Regions from separate parts of the Homo sapiens genome. Here regions 1 and 3 are each linked to region 2. Evidence: promoter capture Hi-C in 16 types of primary human blood cells and fetal thymus (Javierre and others, 2016). All regions are on one chromosome and are shown on one strand. The core of a region is centred on a gene start or on the middle of the fragment in contact, and the rest is flanking DNA. Distances in the headings are between cores, read along the strand shown. Region 1 holds the start of TSPYL1 (TSPY like 1). Region 2 holds the start of ASF1A (anti-silencing function 1A histone chaperone). Region 3 holds the start of ZUP1 (zinc finger containing ubiquitin peptidase 1).

Region 1 (4,500 bases), core at 958-3,457, 2.6 Mb before region 2:
GAAACCCCGTCTCTACTAAAAATATAAAAATTAGCCGGGCGTGGCGGCGCGCGCCTGTAGTCCCAGCTACTCGGGAGGCTGAGGCAGGAGAATCGCTTGAACCCGGGAGGTGGAGGTTGCAGTGAGCCGAGATCGCGCCACTGCACTCCAACCTGGGCGACAGAGCAAGACTCCGTCCTCCGTCTCAAAAAAAAAAAAAAAAAAAAAAAAAAGGAAAACAGGGAGAGAGAGGGACCTTGGCAGGAGCCAATGTAGGGCAGGTAGCAATAGAAAGTGACTAGAGGTGAAGGAAGAGCAATGAAGTACCATAAATCACACAGAACAAGTGGCTCACTGCTTTTCTCCTCTGAGTTCATTAACGTCCAGTAACTGTCCACAGGGCATGTGCCCATACTGCTCAATGCAGAGCTGAGTAGGTGGAACAGGCTCCCAAAGCTAGAAATCCAAGTGACAGCAACCAGTTCAGAGGCCCTGGGAATAAACAGGGTCCAAGCAGTGCAGATAAAGGCAGTACAATCTACAGTATCATTTGCTTGGCTTACAAGTAGTGTGAAGGATGACCTCGTAGCATGTGATATTCCAGAACAGCATGAAGGTCATATGGAAGTGGAGAAGCATACCCACCACCGTCTCAATCTTGAGGTTGAGAGAACTGAATATCCAAAGGAAACAGGGTGCAGAAAAGTCAGCAAAAACAAAGCACAATAGAAGGCATACTCATTGCTGATGCCCAAGCACAGGTCCAGCAGAAGGTGGTAGGAGACCTTGTGCAGGAGTATTCCCAAGGGCAAATGTTAACCAGACTGGAACCCAAAGGGCCTGGGGATCTCTACAGGCTCCCTTAGCGGGCGACGTCGGGCTCTACGGACTCCTTCACGCAACAGGTAGTATTGCAGTGGATTTGGCCACAGATCCTCTTTAATAATCTCAGCAATTTTGTCGGACTCTGGAAGGCTGTGGTCTGAAAACCAAGTGAAGAAGCTGCAGATGAGGTCTTGGTTTCTGCGAATGAAGGACTGGGGTTCATGCCCCCTGCGCCATATAATTGGAGTAGAAAGAGACACCACTCGGCCGGAGGATCTTACCTCATATTCCTTGACAATCAGCTTGTTTCTGAAGTAGGGGTTTCTTCTAAAGAAGAACTTGAACTTGCAACCGGTTCTAGGGTGTCTGAGTTCCTTCACCTCTAAATTGGTTATGTACCTTAACATCTCTGCATCTTGGCCCCTAATCATGGCGGACAACTGGGGGTGGTTTCGAAAAGCAGTCATCCAGAAGCCCGGGATATTCTGAATGATGTAGTTCCTCCGCTCCAGGTAGTGTCGACGCATCCGCCCAAACTTGTGCTCCAGCTGTTGGAAGGCCCTGTCGGCCTGAGCATTCACAGTGTCCAGTTCCAGCTGGATGGCCTCCAGAGGGTCCATGCGGAGAGCCTCATGCAAAGGCCAGGGCCCTTCTTCCTCCCTCGCCTCCTCCTCCAATCTATCCTCCTCCGCCACTTCTATTTCTTCACCTTCTGGCGGCTGCTCCTCTACCTCCATCTGCTCCTCCATTACCTCCTTCTCCGCCAGGCCTTCCTTCACCACCTCAGCGCTCTCCCTCTCAGCCACGGCTGCTGAGACGGTGGCGCACTTTCCTGTCTTCACCTCCTCCGCCTCAGCCTCCGCCCCCGCCGTCAGCTCAGACGCGGATCTCTGGGCGCCACAGATTTCTAGGGCCTTCTCTCCACCCTGAACGCCCTTTTTCAGGCTGCGGTCGGCTGCCATCACCACAGAAGCGGCTGCCAGGCCTTCGGCGGGAGGCTGGCCCTCTTCCTGCCCGGCTTTGATCGCCACATGACCGCGACCCCCAACAACTCGGATCTGGGGAGTACCGCCACGGCCCGCGGCATCCTGGGGTACGCCCCCCTCCTCTGAAGGCGGTGGAGGCGGGAGCGCGACGGTCTCCGAGCCTCCCTCACCCGGCTCCGCCATCACCTGTGTCGCCTCGCTTTGGTCGCGGAGCCTCAGGTACTGGTGTGCGTCCTGGTCGCTCGGGACTTGGTCAGAAATAATGATGCTGTGGGTTTGGAGGGGAGTGGTCCTCTTGACCCCATCCAGGCCGCTCATGTTGCTAACAGTCGGACCAACCGCAGGCGAACGCCCGTTTTCCTCAGAGGCCGAACTGGGAGCTAACCGCCGCTCGCACCGCCCACCCTACAGTCTCACTAACATTTCAGCGGCGGTGTCGTCAGGACTGGAGATCTCACGGTATCGCGAGAACTTGCTGAGCCCGGGATTGGTTCCGCCGCTCCCTGCCAGCCAACCGGATTCTCTGGGCTTTATTTCTGTGAATTTACCCATAGCAACAGTAATTTTACCTACGTAAATAAATGTCGATTGTGCTGAGTCTGGAAGCGCGGACGACCCACCTTGAGATGCATCTAGCGACTGCTCCCAGCATGTAGGAGCAGTTGTAAAATCACAGCCGTAACAGTGCCTGCTCTCCAGTGTCTGAAAACAAATGTTTTTCTGGTCTTCACTTTTTTGAGGCAGGAAGGTAAATCTATTCCCTGTTACTCCACGTAACTAGCAGCAAAAGACTTCTCTTTAAGATTAATAGCAAAATGTTTCCCCCCTTCTTAGTAAAAGTGACATAAAAATATCAATTCTTGCCTCTACGGTTACTGGGGAAAAAAAGCTACTCAGCAGCCTCTTACCACTAAAGCGATGCATAGTATTCATTGCTAATTTTCGATTTATAATCTGCATCAAATAAGAGTTTGTGCTGCATAGTATCGGTAGAAATTAAGCCAGGATCAGTTTGCTAAATGTTCCATGCCTTTTCACTGCAAGAAAGAGGAAATTATAACTATTTCCAGCCCCAAGAACTTAATTTATTATCATATTTAGTTATGTAAGATAGGAATGTTTGGCTCTAACGAAGCATCTGTCTTTAGCAATCAGCTGAGTTCATTAGAGGGGGATGTCAATGTCTCTGGTTGAAGTGTTCCAGTTTGTTGACTTGTGAGTTAAACTGGTGCTGTCTTAGAGAGCTACAAGGCCTCAGAGAAATATCAGTGGGGGGAGCCACATACCACCATTTTGTGAGGAAAGGCTAGTTAAAATGGACAACTAAGATGGCCTTGAAGTAGAAAACAAACTTGCAAAGGGCAACATGCAGCTGGTGGACTCAAGGTATAAAAGAGGCAAACGTTATTTTCTACTTAATTTGCTTTGTGTGGTAGTAGCCTGATGGCCCTCAAAGATGTACCTGTCTTAGTTATGCGGCCAAAGGGACTTCGCAGATATGATTAAGTTAAAGATTTGGAGATGAGAAGATGATTCTGGATTATACAGGTGGGCCCTATGGAATTACAAATTTCTTATAAGAAGGAGGCAGGAGGGTCAGTCAGAGAAGATAAGAGGACGAAAGCACAGAGAGAGGGAAGGAATGGTGGAGAATAGGTGTGGGAGGGAGGAAAGGGAAATCGCTATGTTGCTGGCTTTGAAGATGGAGGAAGGAGCCAGGATCGTAGGAATAAAGGCAGCCTCTAGAAGCTTGAAAGGTAAGGAAATAGATTCAATCCTAGAGCCTCCAAAGGAATGACAACACCTTGAGGTTATTACCTCTAAACTCCAGCACTATAAGAAAATAAATTTGTGCATTTTAAGCTATTAAATTTGTGGTAATTTGTTACAGAAGCAATATGAAATGAATACACCTTGGATTAAGGTTTGGTTGCATCTATGGGTGCCTCAAGTTGTTTCTAATAGCAGCCCCTTCTACCTTGCTCATGGCTTCCCGTGAGTTCCTGCCCAACAGCTGTGATGTATTACAGCTTGAATCTGTCTTTCAATATCAAGACCAGAAATATACTTAGGCAAATGCACAGAAAGACAAAATTAAAGCCTAAACATACCACAAACGATATCTGAGGAGACTGTAAACTGCAAGAGGACATGATCATGGTTTCGTTTCCCTCTGTTTATCGAGTGCCTAGCACACTACCTTACACAGTATCCCATAGATTATTAAAATGTTAAATAAAGGAGCAAATGAGCAGAAAACAGTTTCTCTTGCTTGCAACTTGCTCCTTGCGGAAGAGAAGTAAGGGGCATATGGGTTGTCACTCTGCTCTCCTTCCTATCTGCCACTGGCAAACCAGAGGGCTGCTCTATTCTATATAGTAACAGTTTCCTACTCAGGAGAATGAATTTCTATATATGTTTCAAAGGCTCTAAAAGGATAGGAAAAACACAGAGAAAACAATTTTATTTTACAAATAATTTAAGTTTGTGTGGTCACACTGTATGACAAACGAACTCTGAAAAGACCAGCATATTTAGGTGAGTTTACATATCAAAGCCTCGGACTACCAGCACTGTATTTCCAATTCTCTCCTTTCTGAAAAAGTCAAGGTAATCATTTCAGGCTTTACTTCGTTTCTGTCTACAGAAATATATAATGCATTTCTCTCTACAAGTGATGGAGCCTGTGATGCATGGCTGGAATTACTTT
Region 2 (4,145 bases), core at 1,638-4,137:
CCACATCATTTCACCCACAGGAAGTGCTTGGGAACTGACCAATATTTGGATTCAGTAAGATTAGATGCTCAAATAAGCTTAATTCTGAGGGGAAAAATATCTTATAGCTATATTAGGTTGTTAGAGCTGCCATAACAAAATATCACTCACTGGGTGGCTTAAACAATAGAAATTTACTTTCTCACAGTTCTGGAAGCTAGAAATCCAAGATCAAGGTGTTGGCAGGTTTGGTTTATTCTAAAGCCTCTTTGCTTGGCTTGCAAATGGCCACCTTTTTGCTGTGTTTCCTCTGTGTGCGTGTGACCCTTGTGCTTCTCTGTAAATCTAAATTTCCCCTTGTGAGGACGCCAGCTAGATTAGATTAGGGCCCACCCCAATCACCTCATTTAACTTAATCTCCAAATACAGTCACATTCTGAGGTACTAGGGATTAGTGCTTCAACATACGAATTTGGGGGAGACATAATTCAGTCTAAAACAACAACTAACTAGTTTCATGTATTTCTGCCCTAAGCACTAGTTTAGGCTTTGTTCTGTTCATCTTAGAGCCGATAAAATCTCTCTCAGCCATCCTTCCCCCAAGTAACCCATAGTGAGAAGTGATTGGGGGATTACATTCCATGCAGCCCTCCAAACATTATGTGGGACCCCCTTGGGTACTTAATAAAGACATTCACAGTGACCCATCTGTTGTACAATTAGATGTTTGGGAGTCACCAAAGTTGTTCAGCAACAAGTCCTACTGATTGCCTCTGAAACCAGAGAGAGGCTTTCACAATTCTTTTTTTCCTACAGCATACCAGTTAAATTAGAAATATGCCAGGACATATCTGAGGAATCCTTTCGGTCTCTCCTGGAGTAAGGTAGTATCAATGGTGAGGAAACTATTGAACAAAGTGCTCAACGACCCTTTAGTATTTCTGACAAGCAATAATACAAGAGTTAAGACAGGAGAAGCCTGGAGCTAATTCTTGCAGCTTCCAGTGAAATGTTGGGGAGTTTTTTCTTCTTAAATACTGTTGCATATGATGTGTTAAACAAAAAATTTTAAAGAAAATAAGCCAAATTAGTGGCATTCAGGTAGATCTTCTCAGTCCTTCATGCTGCACATCCACCAAAAGTGAGTTTTACAACTAGTCTCATTGTAACACTTACGGTCAGACTGCAAAATGCACGTGATTTTAACAAGCATAAAATGTCGTTTTCATGAGACTGACTAGACTCTCCTCTTAAGAGTACCTGTAATAATCAGACAACTGCATACACCAGTCTCACAGGAGTTTTAATCTTCAAATGGTCATTTTATCTTACATATACAGAGTGTCTTACAGCATACAGCAATTTCCACTTTATCTGCTAGTGTTAGGACCAGCACTAATAAGAATGAAGAGTATGTTGTTTATCAGCCACAAAAATCTGTGTCTATCACCATGGTTTGACTCTTAATACTCTAATGTCACAAACAACTGGCTTGAAGAAGTGTTTTTTGGTAGGTCCTATATCTAACTGTTCAATCCACTGACAAAAAAAGGGAACTCTTCCCCACTCTAACCGGTTTTCCTAAATGTACGAGGGGTTGACATTAGCTGTCTCACATTAACTTTCAAAAGACCATCAGATGAAAACGTTTCATCAAAAGCCACCTACTTAAGTATGAACAATGACCAAAGAATGACAAATCAAAATTCTGGGCACTATACTAAGAGAAAACTCTTCCAGAACACATACTTAAGAATTAATTTTCTCTCTGAATTTGGCCAAGTTTGGTGGTTTCATTCACAACATTTAAGGAAAAAAATGATGGTTTATGGCTAGCAGATAATAAAACAAACCTTTATACCACTTACTAAATAGAAACGGTTTAGGCTCACAAATATGTTAAAGCTTTCTCTTTCCCCGCAATGGTAGCCAAGCAGCATAAACGAATCAACATTTCCTCAGTTCAGACCTCAACTGGTTACAGGCAAGCAAGGGCTCCTCAGAATTTGCTTTACTAACGGTTTAGGTCAGAAATTTTTTTGAAGATCAAATGTCTTGCTATGTCTTTGTGTTCTTTTTCCCATCTCTATTACGTTTGTTGCCCTGTTGGTCTCCTAACACTTCCATTTTCTCCTTTTATGTTCCTGCTATGCTCTCCAAATGGCAGTAACCTGAAGTATAACTGATCACACCTCTTGTGATTTTTTTTTATTCTAGGACTTCCCAGATCTGGACTCCGAAGAAGACGCCCAGGTGCAAGCCCAAAGGTTACCTATTTAAATTTTCCAAGCACAGTGTGTAGAAAATCATTCCTCGCCCTTCATTTTGTGTTGCTTAACGGCGCTGTCGTGCCTAAACGTAGATACTGGCCAAGAGCTAGATTTCCAAAATGGCTTTGCTCCTTTCGAGCTGACATCGGTCTATAACATGCAATTTATTTCCCCTGCAGCCAATCTTTCTCTCTACTCCAAATACTACCCGATACGCAGAAAGCTGAACCTAACCCAGTGTAAACACCGACTCTCATCTGCTAAATTCAGCAAGGCCGGCAAAGCTGTTGCACTGATGTAAAAAGAGCGTTAAATCAAAAAACCAAAAAAACAAAAAAAAAAACAAAAAAACGCCAAAACACCCACACGAAGCCAACTGGAGGGGCGGGCGTCGGCCGGATCGCGCCCTCCCGCCGCAGCCACGCCTCCCCGCCGCGGCCACGCCCCCTCCGCCCCTCTCCGCGCCGCCGCCGGCGGCCTCCGCGCGGGCCTCCCAGCCCTTATTCCACTCACTTTGTTCTCCGCCTTTGTCCTAATCCACACCAGCAGGTGGAGCCGCAGTTAAAGTTTCCGAGTCCATTCCGGGAGCGGGAGCCCATCTTGCTGGCTGCCGAGGCCCTCGCTGGAGGAGGAGGGTCAGAACTCGGGTGCAGCCAATCGAGGGCAACGCTGCTACTTATCAGAGCAGAATGGGCTGTAGTTTAGTGAAATAGGAAAGCTGCAAAACACTGTGGAGTGCTCCCGTGTAAATAAAAAGAGGAAAAAAGTTTCTCAAGTCGCCGCTGCACGACGTCTGGCCGGCGCTGGAGCGGGGGTCTGCGCTCTCCCGAGCGGCCGCGCGCTGGACTTTATTGTGCCGCAACCAGCCCCAGTTCCCATTGTTTGTGTTTTTTTCAAAATATGGCAAAGGTTCAGGTGAACAATGTAGTGGTGCTGGATAACCCTTCTCCTTTCTACAACCCGTTCCAGTTCGAGATCACCTTCGAGTGCATCGAGGACCTGTCTGAAGGTGAGTGCGGCGCCCGTGCGCCCGGGCTGTCAGTTGCGGGCTGCAGACGTTGAAAGTTTCCCGGGCCGGGCCTCGCGCTGGGCGGCTGTGTTCGGCGCCTGGCGGCCGCGGGCTGCTCTGCGGAGGGAAACTTGAAGTTGATGGACGACGGCCGCCGAGGCGCGCGCGGCTTTCCGCCGCAGCCCAGGCGCCTGCCGGGCTCAACTTGCGAGGAACTTGTTTGAGCGGAGGAGCGGAGGTAGCCATGTTGTCAGCTTTGTCTGCGGGCGGGCAGCTCGGAGACCCGCACTCGCTCCCGCTGCGCCGCCTGAGGTCGCGCCGGGCTGGCTCCGCGCCGCCAACAGCCTCCGCGACCCTCCGGGCCCGAGCACGGAGGCTGGGAAGGGAGAGGCTGTGCGTGTGGTCGCGCCGGCGAGTTCGGAGCGGAGCCATCTTACCCCGAGTCGAGAATTGGGCCAGCGACCCCGGCGCACGGCGCCTCCTCTTGCCCCGCCGCCCGCCTGCCCCCGGCGAAAGGCAGGCAGGCACTCTCGAGAGCTCACGGTGGAGTCGCCGCACTCTCCGGGCTGGCCATGCCTGGCCGCTTCGGGGAGGAGAGCGAGGCTGTCCTCGCGCTGATTTCTGGCTTCCTCGACCAACCAGCGGGGGAGGCGGGCGCAGGCTCGGCCCCTCCGCGCCGCGGGCTGGGCGCCGGCGCTCCCCGGGGGCCGTGGGTCCTGTTCGGCCGGTCCTCCTCGGCCGGCGCCCGGGATGCGCCGGGATGCTGGCGCGCAGGCTCCCCAACCAACGTGGACTCCTTTCCCCTAATGACGAAAAGCTAATTTCAGGAAGAGAAATAGAGCTGAGGTAGGAAGTTACATTTAACCTAAAAGCAGAAATAAGATACT
Region 3 (4,442 bases), core at 1,612-4,111, 2.2 Mb before region 2:
AGTTCAACAATAAGAAAAAGACATAAGATCCTAAATGTGTACACACCAACAATAGAGTCTCAAAATACATGAAACAAAACCTGACAGAGCTGAAAGGAAAAATAGATAAATTTACAATTATAATCAGGGATTTCAACAACCCCTTCTCAAAAATTGATAGAACTACTAGACAGTACTACTATAGAAAACAAGCAAGGATATAAATAATCTGAACATAAACAACAGGATCTAGTGACATACATATAACATTCCACCCAACAAAGCAGAATACACTTTTTTTTCCCAAGTATCCACAGAACATGACCAAGATAGCTCGTGTCTTGAGCCATAAAACAGGCCTCAACAAATTTAAAAGAACTGATATCACAGAGAGTTTGTTCTCCAATCATAACAGAATAATGGAGTCAAAATAGAACTCAATGCAAAGTCAGAGAGTCCAGGACAGTCCAGATGCTACTGGGTTAGTGACAATAAAAAGAATACCCTCTGGAAACTAGACAGAAAGTTCCAAAACTACTCTCAATGTAGCTGAAACATTTTATATCTGCATTAAAATTCTTTTCCATAATGTACTTTTATATTTCAGTAACAGCAAATGAAAAATGTTATAGACATAAAATGGATTTCAAAACACATCTGTAGTAAGCTGACTTACAAACCAACTTTTAAAATACCACATATTAAATTGAGGCTGTAAACTTATAATTTATAATGAAATGAAAACTTTACCTTCCAATGGAATGTCTAAAAGATTGGCATGCTTTGTTTTCACATGAGTTTCCATATCTTCACTGTGCTCCTCTATTTTTCCACAGAATGGACATTCAGGAGGACTGTATGTTGTTTCATAAACAGATCCTTTTATTTCGGTCAGGCTGGACTGTTTTTCCCTACTTTTCAGGAATTTTCTAGATTCAGTTAAGTTCTCTGAATAGAAGCCTTCATGTTTTAAAGTACTATCTTTAGTCAGGTTTTGAGCTGAATTTTTTGGATGATTAGATGCACAACCTGAAAGAATACTTGAATTAACTTCCATTCCACACTGTAGGGTGTTGTCTTTCTTGTTATCTGAAGTTCCATATTGTACTGTATTTATCCTCTCAAAGTTTCTTTCAAGTGTATTCTGCTCAAAATGAGCTGTTTCGATATGAAAACACATTTCATCATAATTCACACCTGACAACTTGCAAAATGGACATATAATTTCACTTTCCATGTGAACAATTAGGTGAGCTTTCATGTCTGGTTCTGAGGTTACTGTTTCACCACAAATATTACAGGAAAGCATGGTATTGACAAGTAGCTAGAAAAGAACATAACATTAGGTTTCAAAGATTTGAAGAAAAAATGTGTTTCATAAAATGATTTGAGACAATTACTTGGTCTTTAACGCTGGATTATTTTGATGAAGAAGTTTTCAATGTACTTACTGTTCCTCAAATACAAAAACTTATTTATAAATATCAACCAAAATTTCATTTATTTTTTTTTAAAAAAAGGCAATAATAATGAATACAAGTAATTTTAAAAATAAAATATTTCAAAAAATGTCTCTGGCCCAAGGTGGAGAAAAAATAACGTTTAAAAAATTGTCCAGGTAAGATAAATCAGGTAAGAAAAAAATGAAGAGAAGAAACCTATTTATCAACTGATATATCTAAATACTGAATACTGAAGCTGATTATATTGAGGAGGTAAATAAACACATCTTACAAGTAGAGTTTAACACTGTAAACTTAGAGTCTTACATGTATCAAGTGCTATTTAAGTGCTATTATTGTAATTTAAGTACTATTATTATCGCTCTACACATAAAGAAATTCTGGCTCAGACAGGTCACCACAAGCAGAAAAAGGTGGAAGCCAAAATGCCAACCCCGTCGTGCTCCACAGCCTGTACTCTCAGCCCCAAGAATAAAAGCAGAAGTGGTATAGTAGAAAAAAGCACTTATTCCAGAGTCAAGAGAACTGGGTAATAATTTCAGATTCATCATTTTGGGTAAGGAATCTCATCTCTCTGAGGTTCAGTCAAAGACTACTGTAAAATCCAAAGGTAGTTATTTTTGGATTTTATGGACAAATAAAGTACTGACTACTGACATAAAAGTGTTAAAAAAATAATTTTAAAAAAAGCAATCACTTCGCCACCACCTTCCTACTACAGGTCATCGTTCAGCTAAAGACTATTTAAAATCAAACAGGAAAAGTAATGACACTATCACTTCATTTAAATAAATTTACCTTTAAAATACCTCCCTACATTGTCCTTATTTTTTTCATTTCTCTCCAGACAAATGGATACAGTCTCTGATTTTAGAAGGCAGTTCTCCCGAGCCCCCAGTGGGATTAATGTCACACCCGGAGTTTCTTCTCTTCCGGTGGCTGGGACACGGTCAGACACAGAATGATGAACTTGGACATGGACTCAGATTAAGCGGGTAAGAGACAAGAGAGTACCCAGGTGCCTCAGAGGAAGCGAGTGAGAGGCATGAAGGACCCAGTGCCAAGCTAGGTACGTGGTGGGTGAGGTCAGAAGACCGCAAGGCCGAGTCTCCCAAACGTTCCGCGCCAAAGGCACAAGCCAGGCACACGAAACTAGCAGGCACTAACTGGGTCAAAGCTTTGGGCCTGGGGAATAAGGGAGGGGACCATCAATTCTTACCGGCCCAGAGGCCAGCAGCTGCCACACTGAGCTCCGCTAGGCTTCCCCTTTGGGCCTCGCTGGCAGACGAGTGCGTGCGCGGCGTCCAGTACCTCTCCTGGCCTGATGACTGAGGCCAGGCCTTCCCAATACGCAGAGTTTCACAGTTAACCGAGGAAAGAATTAGGAACTTCCAACACCTTGGCCCTCAGTACCTCATTCAAAAGCACTTCCTTACTCCCACGGAAAAGAAGTAATCCCAGAATGCGCCGCTCCACGCCGGTCTCTATGCAGTGCATTCTGGGAGATGTAGTCTTTTTTTTTTTTTTTTTTTTTTGAGACGGAGTCTCGCTCTGCTGCCCAGGCTGGAGGGCAGTGCGCGATCTCGGCTCACTGCAAGCTCCGCCTCCCGGGTTCACGCCATTCTCCTGCCTCAGCCTCCCGAGTAGCTGGGACTACAGGCGCCCGCCACCATGCCTGGCTAATTTTTTGTATTTTTAGTAGAGACGGGGTTTCACCGTGTTAGCCAGGATGGTCTCGATCTCCTGAGAGATGTAGTCATTTTTGCATTCCTCCCATTTCCGAGTTTTTCCTTCTCCCATCGAGTTTCCTGCCACTCAATTGCTAGGAGAGAAAACCGGGCTCTGAGGTCATTCATACTTAATCTGAATGAGTTCACAGGGCAGGTCCTGGGGCAAATAGCAGTCTACACTAGGGCCTGCTGAGTAGCACTCTATTTTAGTATCAATAAAGGGTTTATAATGCTGCTAGGTATCAAGCTCCCAGCTATGCACCGAAGGTAAAGGATACCAGGTTCTTTCCTCAAGGTTACAAGATAACAAATATCTTGGTTTGTATGTATGTATGTATGTATATATATATATTTTTTGAGACGGAGTCTTGCTCTGTCGCCCAGGCTGGAGTGCAGTGGTGCCATCTCTGCTCACTGCAAGCTCCGCCTCCCGGGTTCACGCCATTCTCCTGCCTCAGCCTCCCAAGTAGCTGGGACTACAGGCGCCCGCCACCACGTCTGACTAATTTTTTGTATTTTTAGTAGAGATGGGGTTTCACCGTGTTATCCCGGATGGTCTCGATCTCCTGACCTCGTGATCCGCCCCCCTCGGCCTCCCAAAGTGCTGGGATTACAAGCGTGAGCCACCGTGCCCGGCCGTATGTATGTATTTTTAGAGAGGAGGACTCTTTCTGTCACCCAGGCCAGAGCACAGTGGCTAAAATAGCTCACCGCAGCCTCGAACTCCTGGCCTCAAATGATCCTCCCATCTCGGCCTCCCAAAGTGTGAGCCACCATGTTAGCCCAAAATCACAAATATCTTGTCATTCAGGCTTTATTTCATTCAACAAATATTTAAAGAGTGTCTATTAGAAAGGCGTTTTGCTTGCAACAGGAGCTGCAGCAGTAATCAAAATACACAAAATTCAGGATTTTTGAGGCTTACATGCTGGTGAGGTAGAGGAAATAAAAAGTAAATTAACTGATCATGATAAGTGCTATGAAGAAAATAAAACTGGATTGGCCAGGCTCAGTGGCTCACATATGTAATCCCAGCACTTTGGGAGGCCGAGGCGGGCAGATCATTTGAGGTCAGGAGTTCAAGACCAGCCTGGCCAACATGGTGAAAGCCCGTCTCTACTAGAAATACAAAAATTAGCTGGGCGTGGTGGCAGGTGCCTGTAATCCCAGCTACTCGGGAGGCTGAGGCAGGAGAATTGCTTGAACCCGGGAGGCGTAGGTTGCAGCGAGCTGAGATCGTGCCACTACACTCCAGCCTGAGTGACAGAGC

The links. Contacts are between HindIII fragments. The CHiCAGO score rates a contact against its expected background, and 5 or more counts as called.
Region 1: the fragment with the promoter of TSPYL1 here is called in contact with the fragment with the promoter of ASF1A in region 2 in 2 of 17 cell types (total CD8 T cells and fetal thymus); the score reaches 6.4 in total CD8 T cells.
Region 3: the fragment with the promoter of ZUP1 here is called in contact with the fragment with the promoter of ASF1A in region 2 in 4 of 17 cell types (naive CD8 T cells, activated CD4 T cells, monocytes and 1 more); the score reaches 10.1 in naive CD8 T cells.

Annotation. Positions count from the first base shown.
Region 1 is chr6:116,277,723-116,282,222 of GRCh38, forward strand. TSPYL1 (TSPY like 1) reads right to left here and starts at 2,208. Exons shown (of 1, transcript NM_003309.4): 1 at 1-2,208. The coding sequence starts at 2,108. The coding sequence ends at 795. It also overlaps a transcript of DSE not described here. RefSeq lists enhancers at 1,572-1,621, 1,642-1,911, 2,142-2,201. The HindIII fragment of the contact is 6,415 bases long and covers 1-3,537 here.
Region 2 is chr6:118,891,265-118,895,409 of GRCh38, forward strand. ASF1A (anti-silencing function 1A histone chaperone) reads left to right here and starts at 2,888. Exons shown (of 4, transcript NM_014034.3): 1 at 2,888-3,258. The coding sequence starts at 3,150. All of the region lies in intron 8 of MCM9 (minichromosome maintenance 9 homologous recombination repair factor), which reads right to left. RefSeq lists silencers at 2,623-2,762, 3,553-4,082 and an enhancer at 3,083-3,172. The HindIII fragment of the contact is 9,487 bases long and covers 1,883-4,145 here.
Region 3 is chr6:116,665,905-116,670,346 of GRCh38, forward strand. It overlaps ZUP1 (zinc finger containing ubiquitin peptidase 1), which reads right to left and starts at 2,862. Exons shown (of 10, transcript NM_145062.3): 1 at 2,662-2,862; 2 at 730-1,303. The coding sequence starts at 1,288. RefSeq lists a silencer at 1,786-1,935 and an enhancer at 2,697-2,886. The HindIII fragment of the contact is 3,066 bases long and covers 2,618-4,442 here.